Regions from separate parts of the Homo sapiens genome. Here region 2 is linked to region 1. Evidence: promoter capture Hi-C in human tissues and cell types (Jung and others, 2019). All regions are on one chromosome and are shown on one strand. The core of a region is centred on a gene start or on the middle of the fragment in contact, and the rest is flanking DNA. Distances in the headings are between cores, read along the strand shown. Region 1 holds the start of SRP68 (signal recognition particle 68). Region 2 holds the start of AANAT (aralkylamine N-acetyltransferase).

The links. The method cuts DNA at HindIII sites, captures the fragments that hold promoters and counts their contacts. A contact is called where the count stands out against the background at its distance.
Region 2: a fragment that was not itself captured here is called in contact with the fragment with the promoter of SRP68 in region 1 in 1 of the 25 tissues and cell types used here (spleen).

The regions. Positions count from the first base shown.
Region 1 is chr17:76,069,882-76,076,734 of GRCh38, reverse strand. SRP68 (signal recognition particle 68) reads left to right here and starts at 4,218. Exons shown (of 16, transcript NM_014230.4): 1 at 4,218-4,427; 2 at 6,291-6,357. The coding sequence starts at 4,244. GALR2 (galanin receptor 2) reads right to left here and starts at 1,954. Exons shown (of 2, transcript NM_003857.4): 1 at 1,484-1,954; 2 at 1-99. The coding sequence starts at 1,851. RefSeq lists enhancers at 1-125, 1,008-1,889, 3,276-4,103, 4,056-4,105, 4,104-4,931. The HindIII fragment of the contact is 13,843 bases long and covers 1-6,853 here.
Region 2 is chr17:76,462,657-76,469,103 of GRCh38, reverse strand. It overlaps AANAT (aralkylamine N-acetyltransferase), which reads right to left and starts at 1,501. Exons shown (of 4, transcript NM_001088.3): 1 at 1,377-1,501; 2 at 195-432. The coding sequence starts at 357. The HindIII fragment of the contact is 7,095 bases long and covers 1-6,025 here.

The sequences.
Region 1 (6,853 bases), core at 2,969-5,468:
AAGAGCAGCGACAGCCCCCAGATGAGCCCGATGGCTGCCAGCGCGTTTCGAGGCGTGCGCAGCTCGCGGGAGTGCAGCGGGTAGCGGATGGCCAGATACCTGCGGTCAGACCGGGAAGGGAGACGTCGGCTGAGCGGGCACATTCATGCTGGAGGGCCGCGACCCCTGCACCTCGGTCCCAAGGCTGCTCTCGAGGAAGGTCCTTAGCGCATGGTTACACCGCACACAGAGGAGGTGGGGGTGAGGCTCGGCGTGAGGGCGGAGGTGGGGGCCTCCCAGCGTGTCCCAGACACTCAGCGGAGCCTGGAAATGGGGCGGGCCCGGCAGCAGGAAAGGTGTGCCTTCAAGCCATTCTCCCGCTGCCCCCGGGGACTGCAACCACAGTCTCCACTGAGAGGGCACCCCAAAGCCACTGAAGACTAAAGGTTGGAGAACCGGCTATGGGCTCCGGGAGGCTGTGACTACCCACTGGTGACGGTGCCGCGGGAGGGAGGGCGGAGGCGCCTGAGGCTCTAGCAGACAGCCTGGAGAAGACATGTTGGGCAAGGGACAGTTAATTTCTCAGGGGATTCCTGAGAGAATGCGAGCTTTGTGGATCCCACCAGCGCGCTCGGAACCAACGCACTTCGCGCTCAGTGGCTACAGGAGGTGTGGGGGCAGTCTGGCCTCGCCTCTCTGTTTTTCCAGAGGATGGAGAGGGGAAATACCCGGATTTCCTCCCCAGGAACCATCCCAGTGTCCTTTCAAGCTCCACCTGAGTCCCGCGCTCTCCCGAATGTGCGTCTCTCGCTCTCCTCTGGCTGGGGAGGAAGAACCCCAGGGCACGCTCCTCTCCCGGCCCCGACTTGTTTTGGATTTTATTTTGTTTTGTTTTGTTTGGAGGCGAGAGGCAGAGTGGGCTGGGACTGAGCTAGGGACCTTTAGGCACGCTCGCTGGGACTCCGGAGTGGATCCTTGCAAAGGACCCAAGATCCACAGCCTGGACCTGAGCCAGCTGCACCAACCAACCAAACCGTGGCTTGGAGGCGAGCGCAGTGGAGGCGCCTGAAGTTGGCTGCAGGAGACAGACGGTCACTTCACGCACCCGATCCCTGGCTGGCGACTCTGAGCGAGTTACTTAGGAACTCAACTCTTCTGTATATTGGGCACTTTGTCCTATCCCACCCTCACGGAGGGCATTAAGCTCAAGCGAGATGAACGCGCACAAACGCGTCGTACTGGGAAACGCTGCGCGTTGTCAGGCACGGGCGGCGCTGGAGAGCCACATTCTCCAGGCTTCCAGGCCCCAGGACGCATCTAACCGAGGGACACCACGGTCCCCCATTCTTATTCCTCTTTTTCCTCCTCCGCGCCCGCTTGTCTTCCACTGCCTTCTTAGTGTCCTGTCCCACTCTGCGCGTCCCTTCTTGGTCCCCAGTCCCGCCTCCCGCTCCATCCCCCGCGTGGATGCCCATCTCCCAGGGAGGCCAAGGCGCTGGCTCACCTGTCCAGGGAGACGGCGGCCAGCGTGAAGCTGCTGGCGTGCATGGTGAGGAAGATGAGGAAGTGCACCGCCTTGCACAGCAGCGAGCCGAACACCCAGCCGTCCAGGGTGTAGATGGTGGCCTGGAAGGGCACGCAGCACAGGATGAAACACAGGTCGGCCACGCCCAGGTTAAGGATGAACAGGTTGGTAGTGCTGACCGCCTGGCCGCCGCGCAGCAGCACCGCCAGCACCAGCGTGTTGCCCACGGTGCCCACGAGGAAGATGAGCGCGAAGAGCAGGGGCACGATGACCGCCTCGGGGTGCCAGCCTCCCCCGCCGCCCGCCTGGCTCGCGTTCCCGGCCCCTGGGCAGCCCGAGACGTTCATGGTGCCGCTGACCCCGAGGCTGCCCGGGCTCCTGCAGCCGTCTGGGTCTCCGCGAGCGGGAAGCTCCCGGGGCTGCGGCCGCTGCAACTCCTAGTGCGACTCTGCCGGGCTGAAGGCGGAGGGAGCCTTGCCTCATCTGGGGCGGGGATGGGGGTGCGCTGGGGTCAGGAGGAGGAGCAAGAGACAGGAGGGCGAGGTTGTCCCCAGCAGCGGCCGGCGGCGCTGGGGGAAGGGCTGCGGAGTGGTCCCGGCGCGCATTCCACGGCGCAGGCGGAGAGTGGCGCTTGTACCTGCTTCCGAGCTCCAGCCCCCGCAGTCGGGGGTTCTGGGCTGACCAGGCGGACTGACTTCCCCGGCAGACGCCGGAGCGGTGGAGGGGTCGACCCCGGACCCTGCGTGTGCGCCGCGCCGCAGGGAGCACGGACCTCGCACTCCGCGCGCCTCGGCGCTTCCCTGCAGCCTGGCAGGGGTGCAGGATATCCCGGGACCGTCGAGGGGCTGGGGTGCCCTCAAAAGAGGACCCCTGGGAGATCGGGGGGAGGAAACGCGGGGCGGAGGCGGATGAGGGGCCCCGGAGTCTGGCTCTTTCGCCCAGGCTAGAGTGCAGTGGCGCGATCTCGGCTCACTGCAACCTCCGTCTCCCGGGTTCAAACGGTTCTCCTGCCTCGGCCTTCTGAGGGGCTGGGACTACAGGCGTCCGCCACAACGTCTGGCTAGTTTTTTGTATTTGTATTTGTTGAGACAGAGTCTCACTCTGTCGCCCAGGCTGGAGTGTAGTGGCATGATATCGGCTCACTGCAACCTCCGCCTCCCGGGTTCAAGCGATCCTCCTGCCTCAGCCTCCCGAGTAGCTGGGATGACGGGCGCCTGCCACCACGCCTGGCTTATTTTCGTATTTTTAGTAGAAATGGGGTTTCACCATGTTGGCCAAGCTGGTCTCAAACTCCTGACCTCAAGTGATCCGCCCACCTCGGCCTCCCAAAGTGCTGGGATTACAGGCGTAAGCCACCGAGCCCGGCCACCTTTTTCCCTTCTCTTACCCATTGAACGTTTTCCCTCCAATTCAATCCAATATACTGAGCATCTATTGTGTCAGGCTCTGTCTTTGGCTCCATGCCTCAGTTTCCTCAGCTGTAACAAGGAAATGGTAACACTTCCTTCTAAGAGGGATCTGCTGAGAAAGGAATGAGATGTATGGGAGAGTTAGTTAAATCTGAATGCATCAGATCCTTATTCTTTTTCTCCTGACCTTATTCCGTATACCTTGAGGAAATTCAAAATAGAGTTCAGGGCCGGGCGCGGTGGTTCACGCCTGTAATCCCAGCACTTTGGGAGGCCGAGGCGGGCGGATCACGAGGTCAGGAGATCGAGACCATCCTGACCAACATGGTGAAACCCCGTCTCCACTAAAAATACAAAAATTAGCGGGACGTGGTGGCAGGCGCCTGTAATCCCAGCTACTCGGGAGGCTGAGGCAGGAGAATGGCTTGAACCCAGGAGGCAGAGGTTGCAGTGAGCCGAGATCACACCATTGCACTCCAGCCTGGGCAACAAGAGCGAAACTCTATCTAAAAAAAAAAAAAAAATCCGTCATTTAATCTTCCTAACAACCACTTAAATTGGTTATCCCCATTTCATAGATGAAGGAACAGATTTACAGGGAGATTAAGTTACGTGCCCAACATGTCCCTGCCGCTAATGACGGAGCGGGGATTGGAATCCCAGGTCTCAGACTCTAGAAGGTGCAAAGCAAAAATTCATATTTTCCCATGTCTCAACACTTCTCCCTCTTTGGACTGACGGCCCCAAAGTGCAGTGGTCCACGGCCCCAAGCGGTCTGAGAAAGTCACCCCGTTAGGACACCGTCTGCTGACTGCGCAGCGCTTCCTCCGGCTTGGCGTTCTTACGGCCAGCCTCAGAGGAAAGGGCAGGCAGAGGCGGGTCCCTTACGGACGGGGTGTCCCGTTCCGGTAGGGAGGACCCCATCTCTTGAGTCCCTGGGGATGCAGACACCCCGAAATCCAGTATCTTTGGTCTCCTGCTTTCTGCTGGGCAGGACGTGAACCAGATCCCCAGTCCAGGATGCAGGACCTGGGGTCCACCTCCGGTTCTCCGCCCTTAGTGGGTGGGAGGTGGGACTGCCCCCTGAGATCTCAGCAGCCACGGTCTCACTGCGGCCTCAAGTCCCCACCTAGCCAGCCACAATTCCGGACCCGGGATGACAGGATCCCTCGCGCAGGCGCGCTCCAGCACATGGCGCCCTGCTGCAGCAAGGGCCGACGGCGGCGGAGTCCGCCGCTATCCCATCAGCCCGGCCAGGCAGGTCCAGCTCTCACCCGCCCAGGTCGTCCCGCCTCCCCTATCCCGTCTTGCTCTGCGGCGCAGGGGCAAGATGGCTGCTGAGAAGCAGGTCCCAGGCGGCGGCGGCGGCGGCGGCAGTGGCGGCGGCGGTGGCAGTGGCGGCGGCGGTAGCGGCGGTGGACGTGGTGCCGGAGGGGAAGAAAATAAAGAAAACGAACGCCCTTCGGCCGGATCGAAGGCAAACAAAGAATTTGGGGATAGCCTGAGTTTGGAGAGTATCCTAGAGTAATCGGGCCTAACTCGCAATGATTACGTGTCGAACTGGAGGGCTGGGGGCGGGAGAGGCGGCGGGTCCCGACAAGTCCTGGCAGGAGAGGCCGAGGGTTGCAGTTTCTCTCGCCCTTACCTTTTGGTGCTCAGAATTCCGGGGGGGGTCTGTCTCTCGACTAGTCTTTCCTCGTGTCCCCCTCGCCGTCCTGGCTAGGTCCGTTTCTTCCAGTGGCACTGGGATATCAGGCAGGTTTCCCCTGGTGCCCCGCAGTTGTCCAGTTGGAGGGCTTGTGACCAAGTGACACCTTGAGCACCTTGCTTTGGCACCTTGAGCCACTGAACTGGGGAGAGGAAACTGCAGTCTTGACATTTGGCTTAATACTCTTGTCTGACAGTCGTCATAGACTGAGTAGTAAAACCTACAGCTCGATACTTTGAAAGTGGAGGTAAAGATTGACTCAGGAAAAGCTTGTTGCCCATTTTGATTGTAAGTTACCGTAGTTAATATCGATTGTGTCATTTTTTTCTGATCGGTCTGTAGGCATTTTATCTTGCTGACAGTCATTCATATAAGCTGGAGGAATCGGTTTCTAGTTTCCATCAGTGTGTATCTCAACCAAGTGCTTGTGGTACTAGTTTGTGACCTTTTGAAATGAATAACAAATGGAGAAAACGTAGGCGAGTTTCTGAAATAACACATTCAACTTGACATCTTAATGTGCTTAAAGTTCTCAGGCGCTTGGAGTTAAATATTTTGAATTACTGGTAATAGTTCCAAGTAGACGCTAGCGAGCCCTGATTTTACTGAGACCTTTATATCTCTTTGTCCCGTTTTAGTAATTTAAAGAGTCCTTTTAGCGTTCACTATTTTAAAATATGTCTCTAGAGAAGTGTTGAGGAAACATTAAAACTATACCTATATAGATGAAGGTCATTGGACTTTCTAAAGATTAGTACATAATCTTAAATATTTTAAGATTATTAAAAGGAGAATCTGGCCATTCTTCTTTTGAAAGAAAAACCTTAATACTTTTATGCAAACTGTAGCCTAGCTTGGTTGACATGTGCTAATCATAGACTCTCTAAGCATCACAGCTGTTAAGGAAAGTTAGATTTGGCAGGTGTTGGAGATTATGCAAATGGAGGCTTAGTACATGTCATTTATAACCTGAATCTGAATGAATAAAATGTGGGGTCTAGGTGTTAATTGGTGTGAAGCACCCCAATTATAGTCAGCATTTAGAATCCATCAGCTTAATTTAAACTGGGTTTTGGCAGTTTCCAGTGGCCAGTAGTGCCCTCCTTTTTCAGTTTGCAAGTAGTAACAGTTCAGGCAATCAGTTTTCCTGTAGGTTAGCCCTGTCCTGTGACAAGATAGATATTGAAAATGGTTACAAAAGATCTCACCAGTGTACTAAATATTTCACAAATTTGTGTGTGTGTGTGTGTGTGTGTGTGTGTGCATGTGCATGTGTGACTGAATCTCACTCTCACCTAGGCTGGAGTGCAGTGGCGCTGTCTTGGCTCATTGCAACCTCTGCCTTCCAAGTTCAAGCGATTCTCCTGCCTCAGCCTCCCGAGTAGCTGGGATTACAGGTGCTAGCCATTGCGCCCGGCTAATTTTTTGTGTTTTTAGTAGAGACGGGGTTTCACCATGCTGGCCAGGCTGGTCTTGAACTCCTGACCTCAGGTGATACACCCGCCTCGGCCTCCCACAGTGCTGGGATTACAGGCATGAGCCACCGTACCTGGCTATATTTCACAAATGTTTAATGTGTTGTGGTTTGACACAGATATAGACTGATGGTACAGGTTTTGATTTGTTTGGATTCTTGCTATGGTAAGATTTTCCTTAATCTCGACTCTAGTTCTTCAGATTATTAAGGAATCCCAGCAGCAGCATGGTTTACGGCATGGAGATTTTCAGAGGTACAGGTTAGTATCACATACAAGATGTTTGGAAATCATTGTGGGACTTGCTTTGCTTTTGTTAATATCCTGTTTACTCTGCTATATCAGCAAATATGCTAGAAAGTCTAGAGCATTGTTTTTTTTGTTTGTTTGTTTGCTTTGTTTTTTTTTTTTTTTTTGAGATGGAGTCTCGCTCTGTCGCCAGGCTGGAGTGCAGTGGCGCAATGTTGGCTCACTGCAACCTCCACCTCCTGGGTTCCAGCGATTCTCCTGCCTCAGCCTCCTGAGTAGCTGTTTTTTTTGTTTGTTTGTTTGTTTGTTTTTTGAGATGGAGTCTCACTCTGTCACCCAGGCTGGAGTGTAGTGGCGCAATCCTGGCTCACTGCAGCCCATGCCTCCCGGGTTCAGGTGATTCTCCTGCTTCTGCCTCCAGAGTACCTGGGATTATAGGCATGTGCCACCATGCCTGGCTAATTTTTGTATTTTTAGTAGAGATGGGGTTTCGCCATGTTGGCCAGGC
Region 2 (6,447 bases), core at 1,229-3,728, 390 kb before region 1:
AGTGTCCACTCAGATGCCCCGTTCCCCACAGGAAAATGGGGGTTAGGGCTGCTGTTTCCCCCACTTTCTTGAGCGCACACATGGTCTGATACTCTGGGACCCAGCCTCCAAGGACAGGAGACTAAGGGTCTCCTCCCCACAGGATAACTGGACCAGAGTGGAGCATCCCTCTGACCCTGTGCGGGGCCACTCACCTTCACGCTCGATCTCAAAGGCGCTGACAGCGTCCTCCGGGGTGAGGCAGCGAAACTCACTGGCAGGGAGTGTGTGGCGCCGCTGACAGCTCGGGGACTCGGGGATCCCAGGTGGCAGACGTGGGGCCTCAGGTTTCAGGGGGTGGGTGCTCTGCGTGGACATTCTGGCCACTGGTGCCTCCTTGGGGCGCCCCAGCTTTGGAAGTGTCCTCCTAAGCCAAGGAGGGCCTCCCAGCACCTGTTGGAGAACAGCAAGGGACAGGGGTCTCATCCTCATCTCCAGGGAGGCAGGCCCCAGAGTATGTATCTGGCCTCTTTTGTAGCAGGAACTGGGGTGGAGACAGCCCCTAAATCAATGGGCACATTCCCCAGGTACCTGGTCCCCGAGGCTGTTACCAGGCATTGCAAACATTGGCACTGTCTCCCCACCTTTCCCTCTCAGCCAGAAGGATCCCTGGAGGTTTGCCACCTTGCAGACCTGCAGACATTGGTCTCAGGGTGCCGTCTGGGTGCTTCTGAGCCCCAGAGATGGTGGCAGGGATGAGCAGGGCTCAGTGGAGCCTGGGGCACCCCAACCCTGCTGCCCACGGTGGGAGGGGAGGCAGGACTCGTGACCCTCCACTGACCACGTCTAATGCAACTGTGCAGTGGGTGGGCGCCCGGTTCCCCCACACCACCATTCATGTGGTTTATCTTACCTCCCCAGAGGGAGGCTTCTGGTCCTTTGGGTGCAAGATCCTGTGGCAGAGAGCTTTTTAGGTAGCCTCAGCCCTTGGTCCTAGAGAGCCCCTTAATCAAAGTGGGCCCTTAGGGAGCCTCTACTTCTATCCAGATGGCCTCAGACTGGGCCACACACATGCAGGATTTGTGGTGGGGGGTGGGGAGGTTAGAGGGAGCCGGGGGCTGCAGAGGGCCTGGGGAATGGGGAGGAGCAGGCAAGGAGAGTGCATAGGACACCCCCTGCCCCACACATCCAGCTCATCAGACATTCCCCTCTGGGCACTCTTGTCTCCCAAGACACCCTGCAGATTTGCAGTTCTTAGAGGAGGCCATCCCTCCCTCCACCTTCCAAGACACTTAATAAACTCCATGGCTTCCATGTTTCCCTCCATGTCTAGAAGCTCCAAGTAGAGAAGCTCCTGTTCCTAAAGGCTGAGAGCCAGGAGTGGGGGTCCCACCTACCTGGACTGTGGAGAGGATACCCAGTGTTCCCTCCACAAAGCCGCTAGCCCTGGGGGCCTGTCCGCAGGCACGGGAACCAGTAAAATCCGGGACTCCGGGCTGCAAGGCTGTAGTAGCAGATGTTCCCCGGGCAGCCTGTGGTGCTGTTAGAGGTTTGTAATCCCCCCACCCCACCTCTCGAGCTATCCCAGGCAGGATGACGCCAGCAGGGCTCTGGCAGCCTCGGCCCCTGCCTTGCTGAAGGGAAACGTCAGCTCTGGTGCCCTGGGCACAGAAGGGATTACCAGAGGCTGACTGAGGCCCCAGGGTTTGGGGAAGAGAGCGTGGGGCTAAGCCTCAGGGGTCCATCTCTAATCCCTGCTCTGTCACCGACTGGCTGGGCACCAGCGATTCTCCCTCTGTCCCTCGGAGTCTTGGACAAGCCCACCTCTTATGTGGGGGGAGGGGGTGGGAATTCAAGCTACCAATTTGTGCACTTTAAGTACGTTCTACTTCAAGTTTATTTAAATATTTAATTTAATTAAATATTTAAATATTCAGGAGGTTGCCCTACCAAACATCTCAACTACAAAGCTCTCTGCTATTGACCTTGGCTCCACCCATTCCCAGGGCTGCCCAGGCCTTGGCACTTGGTGCTGGCATTCCCTCGGGATGCAGGCCCCTCTCCCTGTTGGCTCTGACTACCCCCTGCCCTCCAGCTCACACCCCATCCTGCACCCCTTAGCTCTTCTCTCGCCAGCACCTGCCTCTCCGCCCCACCCAGCAGTGCAGATCCTGTGTCCATCTCGGGCTCCTGGGGGTCCTGGAGGTTGGATTTCACAGGTGCACTCTTTTGACCCCCTGCAGAGGAAGCTTCTGCTCCTACCCACACAGCTTGGGACGGACCTCTGAGGGTCCTTCCTGTCCTGGCAGCCTGTGAGTGCCACTGCTTACAGCACTTGCTATGTGCCGGGCCCTGGATACGCGTCTCCTTTAATCCACACGGAAGCCCGGCCAAATGAGTATTAACCACGTTATAGAGAAGGAAACCGAGGCACAGACAGGTTCAGTAACCTGCTCAGAGCCATCCAACAAGTGAAGGGGGAGGGGCAAAGCCGGGTCAGCCTCCTGACATGCACTGCCACGGCTGCACTGGTGGGACCCACTCATCTCACAATGAGACTCCTGTTTCCTGTCTTCATGATTCTCCTGCTGGTTTTCAGTGTCCTCACAGGTGCACTCTTTCGACCCCCCCGCAGAGGAAGCTCCTGTTCCTACCCATACGGTTTGGGACACAGCCCCTGACCGTGGAGTGACCCCGTCCCGATGCCCCCGCCCACCCACCACATGCATTCCTCCTGTCTCTGGGTCCCCTTCTCCCAGGGCCCCTCTGCACTCTGAGGCCCACCTGCCTGCTAGAAGGGACCCTCAACAGACCTCTCAGGACCGACCAGAGACCTCCTTGGGCTTGGTTGGTGGGGTGGTCATGTCCAAGACCTCAGCTGGGCATCCCCACCTTCAACCTCCAGGGTCCCCCAAAAGGCCTCTTCTGTCCCTTCATAGACTGTGGCTCCATGGCACCCCCTGGTGGCCAATCCTAATCAGTCACTTGGCGATGCCTGAGAAGAGCCTGCTGTTCAATCGGCCTCTCTCTTTGCTGACTTCCACATGGCCCTGTTCTTTCCGGACAACACCCTAGAGGTCTAGAACCTCAGGGAACAAGATGAGGCAGTAAGCCAGGCACAGTGGCTCACCGCTGTAATCCCAGCACTTTGGGAGACAGAGACGGGAGGATGGCTTGAGCCGGAGAGGTCGAGGCTGTAGTGACTCGCCACTGCACTCCAGCCTGGGCGACAGAGCGAGACCCTGTCTCAAAAAAATACAAATAAAAATAAATTTTTTTTAAAGATGAGGCGGTATGTTAAACATGGTGAAACTGGGAAGTTCAAACCCTTGTGGGACAGGAGAGGAGACAGGGGAGGGCAGGGTGATCGCTGGGACCTTTGTCCTGGTCAACAGGAAGAAAACCACATACCACCACCAATGAGAAGGAAAATAAGGAGGGTGAGGGGCCCAACAGGGTGATGGGTACAGAGAGAAGGAGATCCCTGGGGCTGGGCATAGTGGCTCACACCTGTAATCCCAGCACTTTGGGAGGCCAAGGCAGGAGGATCACTTGAGCCCAGGAGTTTGAGACCAGCCTGGGCAACATAGCAAGACCCCTGTCTCTACAAAAAATTTAAAAATCAGCCAAGCATGGTGGCACACACCTGTAGCCCCAGCTACTTGGGAGGCTGAGGTGGGAAGATCACTTGAGCCTAGGTGGTTCAGGCTGCAGTGATGAGCCACTGCACTCCAGCCTGGGTAACTGAGCAAGATGTTGTCTCAAAAAAAAAAAAAAAAATCCTGACCTCAGGTGGGCTCTAAAAAAGAAGCACCTCCGAGATCATCCTCACGCCAGGGACACCGATTGCACTGTTTATCAGATGCCCAGTCTTGTCCTGCTATTGCAGTTAAGAGTGCTGGCAACGCCTCTGGTGACTGCCTCTCAGGTGGATCTTGGGGATGGGGGGGAGAATGTGTCCTTTGCCCCCCAAGTCGTACCTGTTCAGTCACTCTAGACAGCTGATAAACACCTAACCTGATGGGCAAGGCCGGGCACGGTGGCTCATGCCTGTAATCCCAGCACTTTGGGAGGCTGAGGCGGGTGGATCACCTGAGGTCAAGAGTTCGAGACCAGCCTGGCCAATATGGTGAAACTCCGTCTCTACTAAAAATACAAAAAATCAGCCAGGTGTGGTGGTGGGCGCTTGTAATCCCAGCCACTTGGGAGGCTGAGGCAGGAGAATTGCTTGAACCCAGGAAGCAGAGGTTGCAGTGAGCCAAGATCGTGCCATTGTACTCCAGCCTGGGCAAAAAGAGTGAAACTGCTATCTCAAAAAAAAAAAATATATAGATACAGACAGGGAGAAGCTGGCATCTGTATGTTTCCCAGGGGTGCTGTAACAGATGATACACAAACTGGATGACTGTAAACCACAGAAATGGCTTGACGTCGTGGCTCATGCCTGTAATCCCAGCACTTTGGGAGGCCGAGGCTCTTTGTTCCCAGCCTCTCCCTCCAGCAGCAGCTCCCTTGAAAGTCCTGTATCCACAACTCACCCACCGCGACTCCCTGCCCAGTGTGTACCATGCCACCCTGCCTCACCCATGATGGCTCCCCTCAGGGGTCCCCCTGTCTCTCCACCCAGCCTGGCCTCTTTCGATCTCCCAGACAGATTTACACATTTCAAATGCCAGATGGGGTTCAGTTTTCTCCCAAAAGGCTCTTCGGTCCCATGAAAATCATGGTCTGTGACTGGGCTTCCACTTCAAGACTCCAGAATATTCTTTTTTTTTTTTTTTTTAAGACAGAGTCTTGCTCTGTGGCCCAGGCTGGAGTGCAATGGCACAATCTCGGCTCACTGCAACCTCCGCCTCCCAGGTTCAAGCAATTCTCCTGCCTTAGCCTCCCAAGTAGCTGGGATTACGGGCGCACACCACCATGCCTGGCTAATTTTTTTTATTTTTCCTAGAGATGGGCTTTCGCCATATTGGTCAGGCTGGTCTCAAACTCCTGAACTCAGGTGATCCACCTGCCTCAGCCTCCTAAAGTGTTGGGATTACAGGCGTGAGCCACCGCACCCAGGCAGGACTCCAGAATATTCTATAGCAGTTTGGAGAGGGGTTGTCCAGGGCACACAGAGAACTGCCAGGGACCATGCTACCTAACTCCCCACCTGCCCTGGTAGAGCCTCACCTCTGACCCATCAGAGCCCCCATCCCACTCCTAATCAGATGTGGTGAGGATGATGACGACAGTTATTGAGCGGATAACTGATATCATGACAGTAAAAAAGGTTCTGAGAGGATGTGTATCACCACACGAAAGCTGAGAACCAAGCTTTTGGGATGTCCACTGTTAGCAGGGAAAGGAGTTATTAACAGGAACACAGGTGAAGCCACAAGAAGGGAAGAACCCAGGGGAGAATGTCCAAGAAATGGGGCAGATAGAGCCTGAAATGCCACAAAGAATGGAGAACAGATCTCAGATTCTGCCAACAGGGAGGCTCCGATGACCTTTAAGAATCCTTCCAGAAAAGGCCGGGCACGGTGGCTCACACCTGTAATCCCAGCACTTTAGGAGGCTGAGGTGGGTGGATAGCTCGAGGTCAGGAGTTCAATAGCAGTCTGGCTAACATGGTGAAACCCCGTCTCTACTAAAAATACAAAAATGATCTGGGCGTGGTGGTGGGTGCCTGTAATCCCAGCTACTCGGGAGGCTGAGGCAGGAGAATTGCTGGAACCCAGGAGGCAGAGGTTGCAGTGAGCCAAGATTGCACCACTGCACTCCAACTTGGGCCACAGAGCAAGACTGTATCTCAAAAAAAAAAAAAAAAGGAATCCTTCCAGAAGGGAGAAATGGGTGGAGAGGCCAGATGCAGAGGAATGGCCTTAATGGTGACAGTGAGAGGTGGAGTGCAGAGGCCGTTGATTAAAGGCACACTGACTCGCTGCCACGGCCGGGGGTTGGAGAAAACCTCCCCACGGCCCCCACCCCATCCCGGGCACCGAGCCTGCTGCAGCTGCTGATACCCCCGGAGAGCCTGGTGCAGGGGCAGTGAGCATCCCCACCGGGCCCAGTGCAGAAGCCCTGGACCTGGAATCTGGGAGCTTCCCGCATGGAGACACACCCCCTCCCCTCCGTGTGTCAGCTGCCCAGTTTCACACCCAGACTGAAGGGAGCCCATTTGGGGCAGACCAAGGAGTGGGCCCCATGGCCATGTCCCAGGGACACCTTGACGATGCCTCTGAGATACCGGTTTTCCATGCAGAGCAGTTGAGAGGCCCGGCGTGCAGGAAGCATAGCCCTCTCTTCAGGCTCTTGTGCAATGGCTGCATTTTTTTGGTGGTTTCGATGGTCACTTTCTCTCTCAACTCCTCCCCTGCACTAAAGGTCTGCCCCACAGACCTGGCACTGAGCACATCTCGCGTTATCGTCTTTACCTTTCCAGCCTGAGTACTACCACGTGGCAGGCTCCCCGGGGGATGA